2 separate regions of the Homo sapiens genome follow, and region 2 is linked to region 1. Evidence: promoter capture Hi-C in 16 types of primary human blood cells and fetal thymus (Javierre and others, 2016). All regions are on one chromosome and are shown on one strand. Each heading gives the region's core, a stretch centred on a gene start or on the middle of the fragment in contact. The rest is flanking DNA. Distances are from core to core; before and after follow the strand shown.

The links. The method cuts DNA at HindIII sites, captures the fragments that hold promoters and counts their contacts. A CHiCAGO score of 5 or more calls a contact.
Region 2: a contact is called between a fragment that was not itself captured here and the fragment with the promoter of LHFPL3-AS1 in region 1, in 2 of 17 cell types (M1 macrophages and naive CD8 T cells). The highest score is 5.3, in M1 macrophages.

Annotation. Positions count from the first base shown.
Region 1 is chr7:104,801,402-104,806,153 of GRCh38, forward strand. It overlaps LHFPL3-AS1 (LHFPL3 antisense RNA 1), which reads right to left and starts at 2,691. Exons shown (of 4, transcript NR_034141.1): 1 at 2,555-2,691; 2 at 1,438-1,562. The region is part of intron 2 of LHFPL3 (LHFPL tetraspan subfamily member 3); the gene reads left to right. The HindIII fragment of the contact is 2,660 bases long and covers 1,592-4,251 here.
Region 2 is chr7:104,251,912-104,256,663 of GRCh38, forward strand. No RefSeq gene overlaps it. Among named protein-coding and RNA genes, the nearest start is that of ORC5, 46 kb to the left of the region's middle. The HindIII fragment of the contact is 2,029 bases long and covers 1,171-3,199 here.

The sequences.
Region 1 (4,752 bases), core at 1,441-3,940:
GATTCGTGGGCAGGGTAAAAAGAAAAGACCCTGAAAGCCTGAATGTAACCAGGAAAGTGGTGTTAACCTGAAAGGAACTATTTTAACTTGGAAGAGACTGATATTTCTCTAGTTAGCACCAAAGTTTTTTGTTGTTTTTTTGTTTTTGTATGTTTGTTTGTTTTGTTTTGTTTTTGTTTTTGTTTTTGAGATGGAGTCTCGGTCTATTGCCCAGACTGGAGTGCAGTGGCGCGATCTCTGCTCACTGCAACCTCTGCCTCTTGGGTTCAAGGAATTCTTCTGTCTCAGCCTCCCAAGTAGTTGGGACTACAGGCACGTGCCACCACACCCAGCTAATTTTTTGTATTTTTAGTAGAGACGGGGTTTCACCGTGTTAGCTGGAATAGTCTCAATCTCCTGACCTCATGATCCGCCCACTTCAGCCTCCCAAAGTGCTGGGATTACAGATGTCAGCCACCATGCCCGGCCAAGTTTTTTGTTTTTTCACTTTATGTTTCTTTCTCTCTTACCATTGGGTTAAGAGCTATCAAAGACCATTAACTAAGTAGTAAACAAGAAAAATGCTATTTTTTTCACAATTTGTGCTGTAGTGAGACGTTTTTGACACTATTGCACAAAAGCATCACTGTTAACCTTTCTTCCCTACCTCTTTCTCTACCCCTGCTATGTTGCTGTCTCCCCAAAATTTTTGGTGTTTCCCCAAAATTCATATGTTGGAACTTAATCCCCAATGTGATAGAATATAGGAGGTGATTAAACCATGAGTGCTCTGTCCTCATGAATGGAATTAGTGCCCTTATAAAAGATGTTGGGCCAGGCACACTGGCTCACACCTGTATTCCCAGCACTTTGGGAGGGTGAGGTGGGCAAATCACTTGAGCTCAGATGTTTGAGACCAGACTGGGCAACATGGTGAAACCCTGCCTCTACAAAAAGTACAAAATCAGCTGAGCATGGTGACACCCACCTGTAATCCCAGATACTGGTGGGGGCTGAGGTGGGAGGATTGCTTGAACCTGGAAGTTCAAGGCTACAATGAGCTATGATAGTGCCAGTGTTCCAGCCTGGGCAAGAGAGCCAACCCTATCTCAAAAAAAAAAAAAAAAAAAAAAAAGAGAGAGAGAGCAAGGGAAGGCAGCTTCCCTCCCCTTCCACCATGTGAGGACAGAGAGAAGGTACTAGCTATAGGAACAGGCACTGAATCTGCTAGCACTTTGATCTTGGACTTCCCAGGCTCTAAAATTGTAAGAAATAAATTTCTGTTGTTTATCAGTTACCCAGGCTAAGATATTCTGGTATAGAACCCAAGTAGAATAAGACAACACCCATCTAACAGTAGACCAGCCTGTAGACTGTATCTGTGAGCTGTCTCACATCTAAGTTCCATCCTTTCCAACCCCAATGCCAATGCCAAGATTCACACTGGTCATCTCTTACCTGGAGGTTATAAGCCTGAGTGGTGTCCCCTCCTCTCGGTCTTCTCTTTTTAATGTGTCCTCATCCACATTGCTTGATCTTTCTAAAATATGATGCTCTCCAGCTTCAAAAGCTGCGCTGACTCCCTGTGAATAAAGGGATATTGAAACTCCAAAGCTTGTCCCAGAAGCCTCTTCCTAATCTACTCCTGCTCTAACCTCAATCTTACATATCCTCTGCCCTCTCTCACACATTCCAAGTTCAAGCCATAGCAGTTATTTACCATTCCTATAATGGACCAAGTGCTTTCACTTCACTAATCTTTGCACTTGCTATTTACCTTCAAGATCCAGATCCAACATACCACTTCTTTGACATCCTCTCTAATTCCTTTCACTCCCCAAGTCAAATTTGTCAAGAACCCTTTTGTTCCCTTTACACTATATACATGCCTATGGCAACCAGAAAGCCACAAGTACCAGTTTCAAATATTCTATTCTATTCACGCATTAGAAAGATAAAAGTCTGTGGACCATGCTCCTCAATTTATAGTTCCAAGGCCATAACCATATGTTCCAAAATCGTTATTAGCCTTTACGACATTTTATCATGATCTTCAGTTTGCATAACTAACCCCATACTTGAATTAAACTCCTAAAGGGCAAGAACCACATGTGTGTTCCTCTTTGTAGCCACATCTTTCTACCATGCTCACTCCTTCCATCCTACTCAGCTTAGCAGAGGAACAACTGGCCAGTTAGCAAGTTATAAACATCACTCTCTCCTGGGATGAAACCACTCCCACACCAGGGCAAATGTTTGGCAAATATAAGGAAGACTTGGTTTCAGTTCCCTTACCCTCCTGAGTAGGTACATTTGTGCAGTGCACAAACTGCCCAACTATATGTAATAGCCCTTGGACCTAACATGTAATAAGGGCAAAATATATATTTGCTGATGAATGAACTTGTCTAGGGAATATTCCCTACCTTTACCCCTCTTAAATTACACGAACCAGATGTGCCTATTATTTACATAGTTTTGGTATTGCACTATATCCAATAATCAAATATTCTTCAGCATGCCTTGATAAATTAATGTCAGGCTTCTGTCATCATGTTAGGAATAATTCACTTACGACACAGCTGGATTCAGGACTGGTTCAACAAATAGCATCAAGACTCAACATATCTTTTGGTTCTCCTTCTGCTATGTTACTTTCAGTCTTGGACTTCACATCTTAGCAGACAGAGGCAGCAGCTCCAGTTCCTAGATCCTCTCTAGTTTTAAGTCAACCTGAAAAATAGAGCATATCTTTCCAGGATTCCCAAGAAAGTTTCCTTGCTCTTCATTGGCTCTTGTTGGGTCACATGTGCATCTGTAAACTCACCACTGTGAACCCAGACATGTGATATGCTGATTCGCCAGCTTAAGTCACTTTTCGACATCTGGGGCTGAGACTGCCAGAAACATTGTTGAAATGGTGGAGGGGGCTATTCGTCAAAGGAAAATCTAGGTATAATTACCAGAAGGAGGAATGGATAGCAACCAGAAAAAACAATGGATGTCTGCCATCACTTTCTTCCACGTGATGGGCAAACTCTAGATGACCCCCAGTGATCTCCACCTCCTGGTGTTCTGCCCTTTTGTAATGCTCTTCACCCTTGAGGGTGGGCAAGACTTTGTAACATGCTTTTAACCAATAGAATATGTCAAAAGGGATGAGATGTCACTTCCACGATTAAGTTACATAAGATTGTGATTTCCTTCTTCCTACCAAACTCTCTCTATTGCCTTCTCAGCTTGCATGCTTTGATGAAGCAAGCTGCCATGTTGGGAGAGGCCCACATGGCAAGAAACTGAGGATGGCTGCCAGCTAAAAACTGAGGTCCTCAATGCAGTAGCTCTCAAAGTACTGAATTTAGCTAACTACTACATGAAAATGGATCATTTCCTAGTCAGGCTTTCAGATGAGAAATCAGCCCTGACCAATATCTTGATTGCATTCTTGTGAGAGATATTGAGACAATGGATCCAGCCATGTCCAACTCCTGACCTAGAAACTGAGATAACAAATGTGGGCTGTTCTAAGCCACGAGGTTTGTGGTAATACTGTTATACAATAATAGATGACTAGCGCACTTCCTTTTCTGCTCCCACACCCCTTTTAGAATCTCTCCCAGATCTACTTCACTCCCACCAGCCAGCACCCAGTGCCAATCTGGAGCAGCCAGAGGGCTCCCCTCAGGGGCCCCCATAGGCTCAGATGCCCTGGGAAAGGCCTAGTGCTTCCTTCTCCTCTTGTATCCCCTCACTTCTCCGTGTGCTGACTTCCATTTACCTTTCAGAGAAACCATCTGACTGGGCTAAGTATCACAGATTCCTCAGGACTTAACCCAAAAGAAAGGACATTGTTTCATTGACGATATCTGGGGCCCTTCTTAGCATCCCTTAAGTTCAACTACTTAGGGGAGTACTAGTTAACATAATATGAAGGTGCAGAACTAAAGGGTATACAAGCATTTTGGACCCCAAAATAATTGCTTCCTGAAAGAGATGCGACTCAAATGAATGTGTAGTCCTTGTTAATGGCCAATGACAACTATCTGTAGCAATGTAGTGATGTTGTCACCTGTTACAATTTGAGGTCCTCTCCTATCTGGAAGTTGCCGTGAATGGCCAGAGTTGACTACATGGTCCCACATCAGCCTTCTTTCTGTCTTCAGTTCCTTCCTATTCCCCTGCTTCGTTCACCCCTTCCAGGGTGGCACAGCTGCAGCCCCATAGAGCCCAGACTGCAGTTGCACTAAAGGAGGCTTCACAGAGCTGTACAAAAGCTTCCAGCCACCAAAGCACAAAGCCTTTCCTTCAGTCAGCCTCCACAGTCTCCCAGCTCTTAGGAGAGCCATAATCCTACATGACAGTCAGATTTATGCTTTCTTATGGGGCTTTTTAGGCTTATCCCAAACCCCTCTCTTCTCATACCATCTACAGTTTTTAGTCTGGATCCCTCTAGAACAGCCCTCAGGGAATAGGATTTACTAGGTTAACCCTAGCCACATCGCTTTGTCTGAACCCTGGGCTCTCTTCCTCTGTGGATTCTGTGATTCCACAGCTCAGTATAGTATTTCAAACACATTGCACTGTAAACCATGATACGTTTCATGATTAAGCACTAAAAAGAAGACAGGTGGTGCATTTATGGTAATTAAAGCCTGCTGCAGGCCGTGTTTTAGTGCGTACGACTGACAATGCAGGAACTACGACAGTCTTTGGTAAAGAAACAGTTCTGTCTGTCACATGGCTGTGGCTCATACAAGTTTTCAGACAGAGAAC
Region 2 (4,752 bases), core at 935-3,434, 550 kb before region 1:
AACAATAGATAAATATTCTGGGATAGATTTGCCTTTCTACCCCCAAGGCCTCCATCAGCATCACTATCCAAAGGCTTACAGAATGTTTCATCCATAGACTGAGGATCCCACATAATGTCGTTTCAAATCAAGGCACTCACTTTATAGAAGGGGAGGAGTGGGCATACACCTATGACTACCTAATTTACTATTCCTGTCATACGGGATCACCCAAGAGTGAGTAGCCTGATAGAGCTTTGGAACATCCAGTTAAAGGCATAGCTGACATGTAAGCTCGGAGACAATACTTGACAACGATGGGAGGATCAATATACACTCTAAGTTAAAAAAGTTAATAAGGTGCTATGTACCCAGTAGGAAGAATAAATGGGCCCAGGAAGCAAAGTGTGCAAGCAGGAGTGGCTGTGCTTGCCATCACTCCCAAGTAATTGGTGCTTCCCATCCCTGCAGCTCTGATCTCTGCAGGTTTAGAGGTTCTGAGTCTAAAAGGGAGGATATGTCTCCCAGGGAATGAAGCAAAAATTCCTTTGAATTATAAGCTGACTGCCACCTGGGCACTTCAAGCTCCTTGTGCCAAGGGACCTGCAGGTAAGAAGGAGACACACCATCCTGGAAGCAGCCATTGATCCTAGTCATCAAGAAGAAGGAGCAGTGAAGAATATGTTTGACAACTTTGGTGGCCCTCTGGTGGATGGAAAAGTACAGTAACCTTGTTCGGAGTGATATGACAGACCAGCAGAGGTGCTGGCCAAGGATGAGGGGAATCTAGAATGGATAGTGGGGGAGGGTGATGGTGAGTATCAGTTGCAGCCTTGAGACTGGCTGGAGTAGCAGGGGCACAATTCACTCCCTTGACCTTCTCTGCTAAGTTGCCCCATGGAAAGTAATCCACTAGAATCTTAGAAGACCTGCTACGAAGTGGATCAAGATACATACGAAGTGGATCAAGCAGCACAAACTGTTCACTAGAGTAAACTCTGTGAGGCACTGCCCAGATTCCTCTTCAATGAAGGATTTGTTGTCCTGGTTGCCAGGAGTGCTGTTTGCAAACAACCTTCAGCTCTCAGCCCCTTCAGGGATTGCCTCGGCTTTTCAGAGTGACTTTGCTTAAAGTCATGCCCCTTCTCAGGACAGTTTACATGTAGTAATTGATTGACATGGGAGTATAAAAGCTTGGGCATCATGGCCCACCTCAGGGTAAATTTGAAGGTCTATTCTAGCTCCAGCATTCCCCTCATGGTCAGCCAAGGGTGACGTCAGGCTTGCGCCCCAGCTTCACTTCTCCCCCTTTCCAATCTGGTGTTCTTTCTCTCCTTTCCACAAGTATTAATCTTAAGGATTCATTTTAATAAGGATCCTGCATGCTAAACTCAGATTCTGCTCCCCAGGGAGCCCAAGTTGTGACACTTCCCTAATGCCTAATGACATCATTATTCCCGGGTGAGGATCCTCTTCACCCCACTGCTTATCTCATGTTCAAGGTTGAGATCAGTATCCTCCTTAGGGTTCTTAAGCTCTTGGTTTCAGCTCATGGGGTCCTTTAGTCATAGGATCTTCTCTGAGCGGAGATCCATCTGGCTTGGCACCTTCTCTCAGCCAATCTCAAACAACTACATTTACCCTTGCATTACTGTGATTAAAAAGTAGAGCCTTGGAAGCCAGATGTGGTGGTTTGTGTTTTTTATCCTAGTTACTCAGGAGGCTGAAGTAGGAGGATTGCTTGAGGCCAGGAGTTCAAGATCAGTGTGGGCAATGTAGCAAGACCCCATCTTGGAAAAAGTGAAAAAAAATAGGTGGGCGTGTTGGTGTGTGCCTGTAGTCCCAGTTATTTGGGAGGCTGAGGCAGGAGGATCACTTGAACCTAGCAGGTCCAGGCACTCCAGCCTGGGCAACAGAGCAACACCTCTTTAAAAAGACAAAAACAAAAAGTAGAGCCTTGAAATACCCTATCAATTTGTCCAGAAGTGACACAGTAGAATACACAGAAAGGGAAATTCAATTCAGTTAATGTTTATCAAACATTGTAGGAGGGTGGATGTTAAGGAGTAGGACATGGAAATGCAAGAAAAAAAAAAGAATCTAAAAAGTATGAAAATAAGTGGCCAAGTAGAAATTAGGCTTCATGCCATTAAAGAGAAAATAAAAATACTAAAACACCGAAGGCTGAGCACCAAATGGACACAGGGAAACATCCAGGACAGTCTAGACTTGAGGGAATGAGGTTCAGGGAAGAGAAATGGAATAGGTCTTTTAAAGACAAACTGTGAACTGTGTCTGTCCCATACTAGGAAAGCAAAGCCTCTGAGTGTTGCTGATTGACAAGCAATGTCTGAAATTGTTGGATAAACAAGTACTAGACTAGCTGGAGGTGGTCTACAGCATGTGTGGGATGCCTGATATAGGCTTATGACATTGGCTGCCTCTGGTGCTGACATGAGAGATACCTGCCTTGAGATTATGGTGTTCAGCTGACCTCTGCTTTGTATGCAAAGTGCTTGAGTTGGGATTATGCCACCCAATCTGGTCTGTACTGCTGTTGTACCAGGTGTTTCAGGGTTTATCGGCTTTCAATCTTTCGCTTTCCTGGAACTTTACACCTGCAACTCCCTCACCAAGGCCTTGATGGGAATACAGACCGTCAGCACTCTATGCCTAGATCATTGATCTAGATCCCTCTTAGCTTCCAGACTCTAACTTCTTTCTGCCTTAATTCTCATTACATTGAGTCTGTCCCTCCCTTACAGGCCCTTGCTTGTTTTTCAAATTGAATTAAAATTCCAGCTCCAAGGATTCACCCCATCCTCCCATGGAAAGCTCCTGCTACATTCTTGCCTGTGCATGTGCTTTCTTCCATTAGGCTGTCCTTTGTACCCTCAGGCTCTCCCTCTCTGAATCTGGGCCAATTCCACTTCCCACTTGCAATGGCCTCCCCACTTTTCTCACCATTTGTAATTGTAATTTATTATTTTAATGTTGAAAGGTGGGCTTATTGTGATTTTATGGAAGTTCAGCATAGGAATGGAGTGACTCAAAGGGTAATTGACCCAAGCATGGCTTATTTATCTGAAAGATGGCCTCATCACTTTGGAAAGGACACACATTCTGTGGTAAGAAAGGAAGGGATGACTTCACCTGAACCAGGGTCTGGAAGCTACAGCTTGTTCGTCTAATCAAGGCTGTTGCCTGTTTTTGTCAACGAAGCTTTATTTGAACACAATTGTGCTCATACATTTACATATTGTTTATGGTTACTTTCATGCTACAATGACAGTAGTGAGTAATTACAACAGAGACCATATGGGCCAGAAAGCCTAAAATTAAAATTCGGTATCTAGCCCTTTACAGAAAATGTTTGCCAAACCCTGACCTAGAGCTTTCTTGTTTATTTCGGCCTGCCTGGTCTCCTCCATTAGACTGCAGCCTGCTTGAGAACGTGTCCATATTTCCCCCAGTGCAACTTGTAATGCACTCCATACAGTGAGAGCATTGGATTCCTGATTGAATGACAGGCATTCATCCAAGAAACATTTTTAAGTGCACCAGATGAGCAGCAAAACCTAGAGATTATTTATATTTTATGTGGTGAAAAGGCTATTTCTATGCCGTTTCTTCTCAATACATTGATTTTTTTCTTTGTTTTACTCCACAAGGTCATTTTAATGTAATTTTTAAAAAAACCTTCAAAGTATGTTGAGATTTTTAAGGAGACATAGTCTCTTTGAGGAAAGGGACTATCTAGTTCACTGTTGCAGCCTCCATCCTACTACAGTGCTTGGCACAGAGATGCTCAACAGACATTAGTCAAATGAATTATGAATAAATGAGCTTCCTTTTCTGGTTGCAAATAATTTTATTTAAAATATGTTGTTTGAAAACATATGTACACTTGAATTTCACAATGTTCATAGCTCCATGGTTAATTAAATAACACCCCGGCGTATGTTTGTGTGGATGATGCCAACGGATTTGCAGGGAGATGATCTAAAAAGCAAGCATTGATAAAAGGAGCCCATTAGGCCAATTCTGTATATTGCGAAGAACCCCTCCCACTCCAGAACAAATAATAGTATTATGATTAAGATGAATATAAGCAGTCTCCGTTTAAAAAACAGGTAGTGTTTCAGAATTGTGTTTGTATGGCAAGACTTTGACCTACATTTCCTTACATAAACATTCTCAGAAGGAATGGCTAGATTCTACTCCAAAGAAATTATTGTGGGGAAAGGGCTTTGTTTGGAAGAAAAGGAATCTGGGTTCAATGATTCCTGGCTGTCATTAATCAGCTGACTTGGACAAGTCACTCTCTGTGGCAGTTTCTGATCTTTGCTTATTTAATCTGTTAAATGAGAGAAAAGCGACACAGGGACTGTTGGGATAATTAAATGTGACAAGGTACACGAATTGACTTTTACTATTCCTGGAACCTCGTAGATACTTTTTTAAAAATTTAATTTCCAGTCAGGCGCAGTGGCTCACACCTGTAATCCCAGCACTTTGGGAGGCCGAGACGAGTGGATCACTTGAGGTCAGGAGTTCAAGACCAGCATGGCCAACATGGTGAAACCCTGTCTCTACTAAATATACAAAATTAGCCAGGCATAGTGGTGCATGCCTGTAATCTCAGCTACTTGGGAGGCTGAGGCAGGAAAATCACTTGAACCCGGGAGGCAGAGGTTGCAGTGAGCGGAGATTGTGCCACTGCACTCCAGCCTGGGCAACAAGAGTGAAACTCCGCCTCAAAAAATAATAATA